2 separate regions of the Homo sapiens genome follow, and region 2 is linked to region 1. The links are contacts of gene promoters, found by promoter capture Hi-C in human tissues and cell types (Jung and others, 2019). All regions are on one chromosome and are shown on one strand. The core of a region is centred on a gene start or on the middle of the fragment in contact, and the rest is flanking DNA. Distances in the headings are between cores, read along the strand shown.

What was found. The method cuts DNA at HindIII sites, captures the fragments that hold promoters and counts their contacts. A contact is called where the count stands out against the background at its distance.
Region 2: a contact is called between a fragment that was not itself captured here and the fragment with the promoter of SPACA4 in region 1, in 1 of the 25 tissues and cell types used here (bladder).

What each region holds. Positions count from the first base shown.
Region 1 is chr19:48,605,470-48,610,493 of GRCh38, reverse strand. SPACA4 (sperm acrosome associated 4) reads right to left here and starts at 3,752. Exons shown (of 1, transcript NM_133498.3): 1 at 2,780-3,752. The coding sequence starts at 3,515. The coding sequence ends at 3,141. FAM83E (family with sequence similarity 83 member E) reads left to right here. Exons shown (of 7, transcript NM_017708.4): 5 at 494-618. The HindIII fragment of the contact is 21,490 bases long and covers 1-5,024 here.
Region 2 is chr19:48,431,489-48,436,116 of GRCh38, reverse strand. All of the region lies in intron 11 of GRIN2D (glutamate ionotropic receptor NMDA type subunit 2D), which reads right to left. Among named protein-coding and RNA genes, the nearest start is that of GRWD1, 12 kb to the left of the region's middle. The HindIII fragment of the contact is 9,114 bases long and covers 1-4,628 here.

The sequences.
Region 1 (5,024 bases), core at 2,503-5,002:
TTTGGGTATCCCCAAGAAACGCCTGAGGGTTGATATCAGTGGCTCTAAGGAAGCTGAGACAGATACTTCTTTTTTTTTTTTTTTTTTTTTTTTTTGAGACGGAGTGTTGCTTTGTCGCCCAGGCTGGAGTGCAGTGGCGTGATCTCGGCTCACTGCAACCTCCACCTCCCGGGTTCAAACGATTCTCCTGCCTTAGACTCCCCAGTAGCTGGGATTACAGGCATGTGTCACCATGCCTGGCTAACTTTTGTATTTTTAGTAGAGACGGGGTTTCGCCATGTTGGCCAGGCTGGTCTCGACCTCCTGACCTCAGCTGATCCACCCGCCTCGGCCTCCCAAAGTGCTGGGATTACAAGTGTGAGCCACCACGCCTGGCCTTGGACAGATACTTCTATGGAGTCATGGGTCCCCCAGTTAGAACCAGTCTGGAGGGAGCCTGAATCCATGCAGTGGGCCTCAGCAAGGGTGTACCCTCCACTCCCCACACCAACAGAACGTGGATGTCCGTGTCGTGCGGGGCTGCAGCTTCCAGAGCCGCTGGCGACGGCAGGTGAGCGGCACCGTGCGGGAGAAGTTTGTGCTGCTGGACGGCGAGAGGGTCATCTCAGGATCCTACAGGTGTAGCCCCCGCCCCGCCCCCCACCTCCCGGCGTCCTATACCCCACTTTCCCTCAGTGTGCTCAGAGAACAGCTGGCATCCCCTTGCCCAGGCCTCTCTTTTCTCATCTGTGTAATGGGGGCAAAACACTCTTCCCTGCGGAGGAGGTTGGTGCCGCGGCCGGACCTGGTGCTGGCCTGTTTAGTGGTCTTGGGTAAGTCTGCTTCTCTTTGACCTGGTGTTTTCTTATCTGGAAAACTGGGCAAACAGTTTGGGGGTGGGGTTTGTTCAAAATCAGGAGCACCTGGATTGGGATCTAAGCTCTGCCTCGGGTAAATAACTCCACCTCTCTGAGCATCTAAGAAAATGCCCGGACATGGTGGCTCACGCCTGTAATCCCAGCACTTTGAGAGGCTGAGGCGGGCAGATTGGCTGAGGTCAGGAGTTCAAGACCAGTCTGGCCAACATGGTGAAACCCTGTCTTCCCAGCTACTTGGGAGGTTGAGGCAGGAGAATTGCTTGAACCCAGGAGAGAGGTTGCAGTGAGCCGAGATCGCGCTGTCGCACTCCAGCCTGGGAGACAGAGCAAGACTCCATCTCAAAAAAGCAAAAAAAAAAAAAAAAAAAAAAGAAAGAAAGAAACTGCAAATAATAACAGCACCTACCTCACAGGGTCACAGCACAGCTAGGGAGGAGAGGGGTGTGGCCTCTGGGACCAGACGGCCTGGATTCAAATTCTAGCTCTCTCAGTTCCTCGTTGTGTGACTTCAGGCAACTTACTTCACCTCTCTGTGCCTCAGTTTCCCCCTCTATGTCATGGGCTGATAGGGTTAGAGCCTCTAGAACCAGGTCCCTCAACAGGGGTGGCACCCACGCTCGGGCTGGGTAAGTCTTTGTTTTAGGAGCTGTTGGGTGCATTGTGGGAGGCTCCTCGGCATCTTCAGCCTCCACCCAGCAGAGGTCAGTAGCATCACACGCCCCATACCCCCGACTTTCCCTGCCAATTAGAGAACCGAAAACCTCTCCAGACAGCGCAGATGCCCACTGGGGAGCACAGGTGCCCAGCTGAGAACACTGCTCAGGAACAGTGGCTTTCAACCCTGTGCATGCACCAGAATCCCTGGGAGCGCTTGTTAAAACACAGCTTTTGGGCTGGGCGTGGTGGCTCACACCTGTAATCCCAGCACTTTGGGAGGCCGAGGCAGGTGGATCACCCGAGGTCAGGAGTTTCAGACCAGCCTGATTAACATGGGGAAACCCTGTCTCTACTAAAAATACAAAAAATCAGCCGGGCCTGGTGGAATGCATCTCTAGTCCCAGCTACTCGGGAGGCTGAGGCAGGAGAATCGCTAGAACCTGGGAGGTGGAGGTTGCAGTGAGCCAAGATCGCGCCACTGCACTAAAGCCTGGGTGACCGAGCGAGACTCTGTCTCAAAAAATAAAAAAAAAAAAAAAAAAGGAAAAGAAAAAGAAAACGGAAAAAGGCCAGGCGTGGTGGTTCATGTCTGTAGTCCCAGCACTTTGGGAGGCTGAGGCAGGAGGATCGCTTGAGCCCAGGACTTCAAGACCAGCCTGGGCAACATAGCAGGACCCCATCTCTACAAAAATTTAAAAAAATAAAAATTAGACATGATGGAGCATGCTTCTAGTCCCAGCTACTCAGGAGGCTGAGGTGGGAGGATTGCTTGAGCCCAGGAGGTAGAGGCTGCAATGAGCCAAGATTGCACCACTGCACTCCAGCCTGGGCAGCAGAGCAAAACCCTGTTTCAAAAAGAAAAAGAGAGAACAATACACAGCTTTTGGACCCCACTGCCATTCATCGTGCCTGGAACAGGACCTGAGAATCTGCATTTTCAGGAAGTTCCCACTTGCTGCTGCTGCTGTTTCTGGTCCAGGGACCACACTTTGAGAATGATTGGAGTTGAGACCAGGATGTTTGAAATGTTTGAAAGAGTGTTTACCTTCCCAGCTTGGTGTGAGGATTCAGTGGCACGTAACGTAAGACAGGCTTGGCCAGGTGCCGTGGCTCATACCTGTAATCCCAGCACTTTGGGAGGCTGAGGTGGGAGGATCACTTGAGCCCAAGAATCCGAGACCACCCTGGGCAACATAGCTGGACCTTATCTCTACAAAAAGAAAAAAAAAAAAAGGAAAAGAAAAAGAAAAGAAAACAAAGAATGCTCCATGAACATCAGCTGTCATTTATTATGATATATATATATTTTTTACCATATTTCATGGACTCTAAAGTGCTACCAATGGAGAGAAGCATCCTGATTGAGATGTGAGAAGCTCTGCGTCTTAGAACCAGTGGAACAGAGTAATACAATCAAACCCACGGGCCGTGCTCCCCTGCCGCTCAGTCAGGCCTGGGGATGCTTCCCCTAGCACCGGGCTCCTGGTGGACAGCCTTAGAAGGGATGAAGCCAGGGCCGCAAGAGGTTGTCCAGGGCCTCTCTGGCCATTTAGTGGGGGAAGGACATGGGGACATGGGGAGTGGCGGATCTGGGAGAACAGTCCCAGGCCCTGTCCTCCCTGTTGGTCACAGCAAACGTGGAGGAAGCAGCATACCCAGCCCCAGTGCCAGGCTGGTGGTGGCCCCCACTGTCTGGCTGCTCGGGGCTCTGTTACACAGGCGGCCGGTGCAGCAGTTGGTGGTGAGGCTGTAGGTGACGCCCCTGTAGCTGACGGGTTCCTCAAGGCCGCAGCTGGTGGCTCGCAGGCAGCCTTTGTTGATGACCGGACCAGTGCCCGGGGCGACCCCGTGGCCTGTGAAGCAGTCCTCGTCATCGCCACAGTGCATGTAGGTACCAGGACACTGCATGGAGTCGGTGAGCTCACAGAAGACGCAGTCCTTGACGCCCGTCGTGCCTGGGGGCAGAGCCATCACCAGAAGCAGCAGCCAGCACAGGACCATGGCGGCCTGGCGGCGTTGACCCTGCCCCAGCCAGGCCGTGGGCTTCCCAGACCTCCCGGAACCGCTGAATGAAGGACCTCTGAGGACTCCTCTTGCCCACGGGACTTTGGCCCTGGTCCTGGCCTCCCAGGGTCAGCGCCTGGAGTGTCCTCTGTTCCCAACGCCCTGCGTCCCTCTAAGTCCTGGGGATGGAGGTGAGCGGGTGGCTGCTGCCCAACAAGAGTCTGTGAATGGAATGAGTGATCTCACAGATCCCTCAGGGTTCCCACTGGCCGCTCTGGGGATGAGGTCATAGGTGAGAGGAGTGGGTGTCACAATCCAAGGGGTGGCCTGCCCCGCCGACCTGCCGGGGCGCAAGAGGGCTCTGCCATCCCTGCCAAGGTGAAGACGCCCTGAACCCAGAGGACGCTGGCCACAAGCTTGTCCGCATTCTCTGTGCTGTACACCCGCCAAGGGCTTGACTTCAGCCTCACACCTCCCATAGTGACCCCATATTCCAGATGGGTAAACTAAGGCTGGGGAAAGTGATGTATCCAGGGTCCCCGAGCCAGGATGAGAGCCAGGTTCATTGAATTCCAAAGAGGCTGGGAAAGAAGAGGGTGTATTAACTGAGCACTTGCTGTGTGCCAGGATTCATGCTCAGTGCTTGCTTGCTTTTATTTTTTTGAGACGGAGTCTCTCACTCTGTCACCCAGGCTGGAGTGCAGTGGCGTGATCTCAGCTCACTGCAGCTTCTGCTTCCCAGCTTCAAGCGATTCTCGTAACTCAGCCTCCCGAGTGGCTGGGACTGCAGGCGCATGCAACCACATCTGGCTAATTTTTGTATTTTTAGTAGAGACAGGGTTTCACCATGTAGGCCAGGCTGGTTGCGAACTCTTGAGCTCAAGTGATCTGCCCGCCTCGACCTCCCAAAGTGCTGGGATTACAGACGTGAGCCACCACACCACGCCTGGCACTTGGTGCTTTCAATAACAACTACTGTGATGACAGGAAGTGTTAGGGCACCGGCCCCCACAGCTCACAGGCTCTCAGGGCCAGCTACGTGCAGGGGGCTTGATTCAAATTCAGTCATTTGAATATTCCTATGTTGTATTTATTTCTTAATTTTATTTTTTATTTTAAAAAATTGGCCGGGCGCAGTGGCTCACGCCTGTAATCCCAGCACTTTGGGAGGCCGAGGCGGGTGGATCACCTGAGCTCAGGAGTTCAAGACCAGCATGGCCAACGTGGTAAAACCCCATCTCTACTAAAAATACAAAAATTTGCTGGGCATGGTGGTGTGCACCTGTAATCCCAGCTACTTGGGAGGCTTGAACCTGGGAGGTGGAGGTTGCAGTGAGCCAATATTGTGCCACTGCACTTGAGCCTAGGCAATAGAGCAAGACTCCATCTCAAAAAAAAAAAAAAATAGGATCTTGCTCTGTTGCCTAGACTGGAGTGCAGTGGCGCGATCTTGGCTCACTGCAGCCTCAACTTCCCAGGCTCAAGTGATTCTCCTCCCTGAGCCTC
Region 2 (4,628 bases), core at 1,345-3,844, 170 kb after region 1:
GCAGACCCCCCGTCTTGATAAATCGGCTCTGTCTAGGCAGCGGGCAACGTGAACCCACTGGGCAGTTACAACCTCCGTCAGGTGTTTGCTCCAAAGACACCTTCCTGAGCACCCTATTTGATACTGCAACCTCCAGTCTCCCGCCCCAGTTTTCCAAATGCATTCACCCTGCCCTATTTTTACCCATAGCGCGTATCCCCTTGGAATGCACTATAGAATATTCTCATTTATTCCGTGCATTGCACGTCTCCCTTCACTGGAATTTAAGTTCCATGAGGCAGGGACTTTGCCCGTCTGATTCACCACTGTATCCACAGGGTCTAGAACAGTGCCTAGCACACACTAGGTGCTTACTAAGAAATGGCTGGACGGCTGGGTGTGGTGGCTCATGCTTCTAACCCCAGCACTTTGGGAGGCCGCCCGGGGCACGGATCTCCTGAGGTCGGGAGTTCATAACCAGCTTGGCCAACATAGTGAAACCCCATCTCTACTAAAAATACAAAAATTAGCCGGGTGTGGTGGCATGTGCCTGTAATCTCAGCCACTCGGGAGGCTGAGGCAGGAGAATTGCTTGAACCTCGAGCGGATCACCTGAGTTCAGAAGTTCATGACCAGCCTGGCCAACATGGCGAAACCCTGTTGCTACTAAAAATACAAAAATTAGTCAGGTGTGGTGGCACACGCCTGTAATCTCAGCTACTTGGGAGGCTGAGGCAGGAGAATTGTTTAAACCTGGGAGGCGGACGTTGCAGTGAGCTGAGATGGTGCCCGGGCAATGGAGCAAGAGCAAGACTCCGTCTCAAAAAAAAAAAAAAAAAAACAAGTGGCTGAATGGGCACTTAAAGGGTAGACAAGGTGAAGAGACAGAGGAAGACGGCAGCTTTTTACAAGCCAAGGAGGAAGGTCTGGAAGAGGTCCTCCCACAGCCCTCAAAAGGAGCCATCACTGCCGACACCTTGATTTTGACCTTCTAGCCTCTACAACTGTGGGGCGATACATTTCTGTTGTGTAAGCCACTCAGTCTATGGTATTTTGTTATGGCTGCCCTAGCGAATTAATAGAATTGTATATAGAAAAATCCCAAAGGATCCACAATAAAAATTATTATGGCTAATAGAAGTTCAACAAGGTTCATGATACAAGATCAATATACGAAATAAATTACAAAATATGTGAAATAAATTATATTCCTATATACTAGCAATGAACAATTAAAATGAAATTAAAACAATTCCAGGCTGGGTGCGGTGGCTCATGCCTATAATCCCAGCACTTTGGGAGGCTGAGGCCAGCAGATTCCTTGGGGTCAGGAGTTTGACACTGGCAAAAAAATAAAAAATAAAATAAAATAAAATATTTAGGAATAAATTTAACAAAAGTTCAGGTAGGGAGTGGTCACTCAAGCTTGTCATCCCATCGCTTTGGGAGGCCAAGGTGGGAGGATTGCTTGAGGCCAGGAGTTTGAGACCAGCCTGGGCAACATAGTGAGACCATCTGTAAAAAAAAAAATACAATTAAAAATTTTTAAAAAAGAAGTTCGAAAGAAAAGAAAAGAAGTGGGCCAGGCATGGTGGCTCACGCCTGTAATCCCAAGAACACTTTGGGAGGCTGAGGTGGGCGGATCATCTCAGGTCAGAAGTTCAAGACCAGCCTGGCCAATATGGTGAAACCCCATCTCTACTAAAAATAAAAAGAACTAGCTGGGTGTGGTTGCGTGTGCCTGTAGTTCCAGCTACTCGGGAGGCTGAGGCAGGAGAATCACTTGATCCCAGGAGGTGGAGGTTGCAGTGAGCTGAGATCACACCACTGCACTCCAGCCTGGGTGACAGAGCGAGACTGCATCTCAAAAGAAAATAGAAGAAGCGGCCGCCAGGCGCGGTGGCTTGTGCCTGTAATGCCAGCACTTTGGGAGGCGGAGGCAGGCGGATCACGAGGTCAGGAGATCTAAACCATCCTGGCTAACACGGTGAAACCCCGTCTCTACTAAAAAAATACAAAAAATTAGCTGGATGAGGTGGCGGGCGCCTGTAGTCCCAGCTACTCGGGAAGCTGAGGCAGGAGAATGGTATGAACCCGGGAGGCAGAGCCTGCAGTGAGCCGAGATCGCGCCACTGCACTCCAGCCTGGGCAACAGAGCGAGACTCCATCTCAAAAAAAAAAAAAAAGAAAAGAAGCGGCCAAATGAGTAAACTCAGACTGGTCCAAGGGAGGCCTTCCATGGCCCAGACACTGGAGCTGAGAAGTAGGATTCCATTAACACAGAAAAGATGCCAAAAGGGCTTTCTCCGTGGAAAAAGGCAAGATGAGAACAGTGTGTACTGTTAGTTTGGAATGTGTGAGTGTGAATGCATCCATATTTTAATTGATCCAAAAGAAAAAAAAATAATGCTTACATTACGGAAAGGGGCCTTGATATTTCCTTTTTTGCCCCTCTTGAGTGAGTGAGAAATTGCACATCTCTCATGGAAAGGGCACCAAGAACTGGCTGGGAGGAGAAGCTGTGTTTCTCTATTTCTTTTTAGGACGTGCATTTCCTTTCTCCCCCTGTGGGGTTACTTGCCGGAAGCGGTAGGGTGAGCCCACGTTTGGCCTGCGAGCCGGCCAGAGCCCTGGGAGCTGCCTCTCCCTTGTGCCTCACTGTAAAGATGGAATTTTCTAGTGCTGTCCTCTATGGCAACCACTAGCTCGCCACATATGGCTATTTGCATTTAAATTTTATTTATTTATTCTTTATTTTCTATTTTTATTTTTGAGATAGAGTTATGCTATTGTTGCCCAGGCTGGAGTGCAATGTGCTGGTCTCAGCTCACTGCAACCTCCACCTCCCGGGTTCAAGCGATTCTGCCTCAGCCTCCCGAGTAGCTGGGATTACAGGCGCCCACCATCATGCCCGGCTAATTTTTGTATTTTTAGTAGAGATGGGGTTTCACCATGTTGGTCAGGCTGGTCTTGAACTCCTGACCTCAGGCAATCCGCCCTTCTCGTCCTCCCAAAGTGCTGGGATTACAGGTGTGAGCCATTGCACCTGTATTGCAGGTGGTGTCACGCCTGTAATCCCAGCACTTTGGGAGGCTGAGGTGGGTGGATCATTTGAGGTCAGGAGTTCAAGACCAGCCTGGCCAACATGGTGAAACCCCACCTCTACTGAAAATACAAAAATTAGCTGGGCATGGTTGCGGGCGCCTGTAGAACCAGCTACTCGGGAGGCTGAGGCAGGAGAATCACTTGAACCCGGGAGGTGGAGGTTGCAGTGAGCAGAGATCGTGCCACTGCACTCCAGCCTGGGTGACAGAGCAAGACTCTGTCTCAAAAAAAAGCAAAATGAAATAAAAAAAAAAAAAAAGAAAGTCCAGTTTCTGGCCAGGCATGGTGCCTCACACCTGTAATCCTAACACTTTTGGAGGCCAAGGTGGTAGGATCGCTTGATCCTAGGAGTTCAAGAGCAGCCTGGGCAACATAGTGAGACCCCCGTCTCTACACGAAAGTGGCACACACCTGTAGTCCAAGCTACTCGGGAGGCTGAGGCGAGAGGATTGCTTGAGCCCAGGATGTCAAGGCTGCAGTGAGCTATGATTGCCTCACTGCACTCTAGCCTGGGGAACAGAGTGAGACCCTGTCTCTAAACATAAATAAATAAACAAACAGAGAAATGAAGGAGAGGGAGATATTGTACATAAAAGAATTTAAGAAAATTCAAGAAATTTTCTCAGAACAAATGACATGAGAATACGATTGAAAGACCCAGCAACGGAAACAGATCAATGGCCATGCGCATGGCTCATGCCTGTAATCCCAGCATTTTGGGAAGCCAAGGCAGGAGGATCGCTTGAGCCCAGGAGTTCAAGACCAGCCTGGAAAACATAATGAGAACCTGCCTCTAAAAAAAAAAAAAAAGAAAGAAAAAGAAGGCCGGGTGCGGTGGCTCACGCCTGTAATCCCAGCACTTTGGGAGGCTGAGGCAGGCGGATCACAAGGTCAGGAGATCGAGACCATCCTGGCCAACACGGTGAAACCCCGTCTCTACTAAAAATACAAAAATTAGCTGGGCTTGGTGGTGGGCACCTGTAGTCCAGCTACTCGGTAGGCTGAGGCAGGAGAATGGCTTGAACCCGGGAGGCAGAGGTTGCAGTAAGCCAAGATCACGCCACTGCACTTCAGCCTGGTGACAGAGCAAGACTCTGTCTCAAAAAAATAAAAAATAAAGAAAAGATAAAAGAAAAGAAAGGAAAGCAGGCCGGGCGCGGTGGCACACACCTATAATCCCAGCACTTTGGGAGGCTGGGGCGGGTGGATCACCTGAGGTCAGAAGTTTGCAACCAGCCTGACTAACATGGTGAAACCCCATCTCTACTAAATACAAAGAAATTAGCTGGGCATGGTGCCACATGCCTGTAATCGGAGCTGCTTGGGAGGCTGAGACAGGAGAATTGCTTGTACCTGGGAGGTGGAGGTTGCAGTGAGCTGAGATCGTGCCATTGCACTCCAGCCTGGGCAACAAGAGTGAAACTCCGTCTCAAAAAAAAAAAAAAAAGGGAAACAGATCAAGGCATGTCACTGATAAATGTCAGTCCACCAAGGACAAGGAAAAGAAACAACAGGTTACATACAAAGGCATAGGAATCAGAATG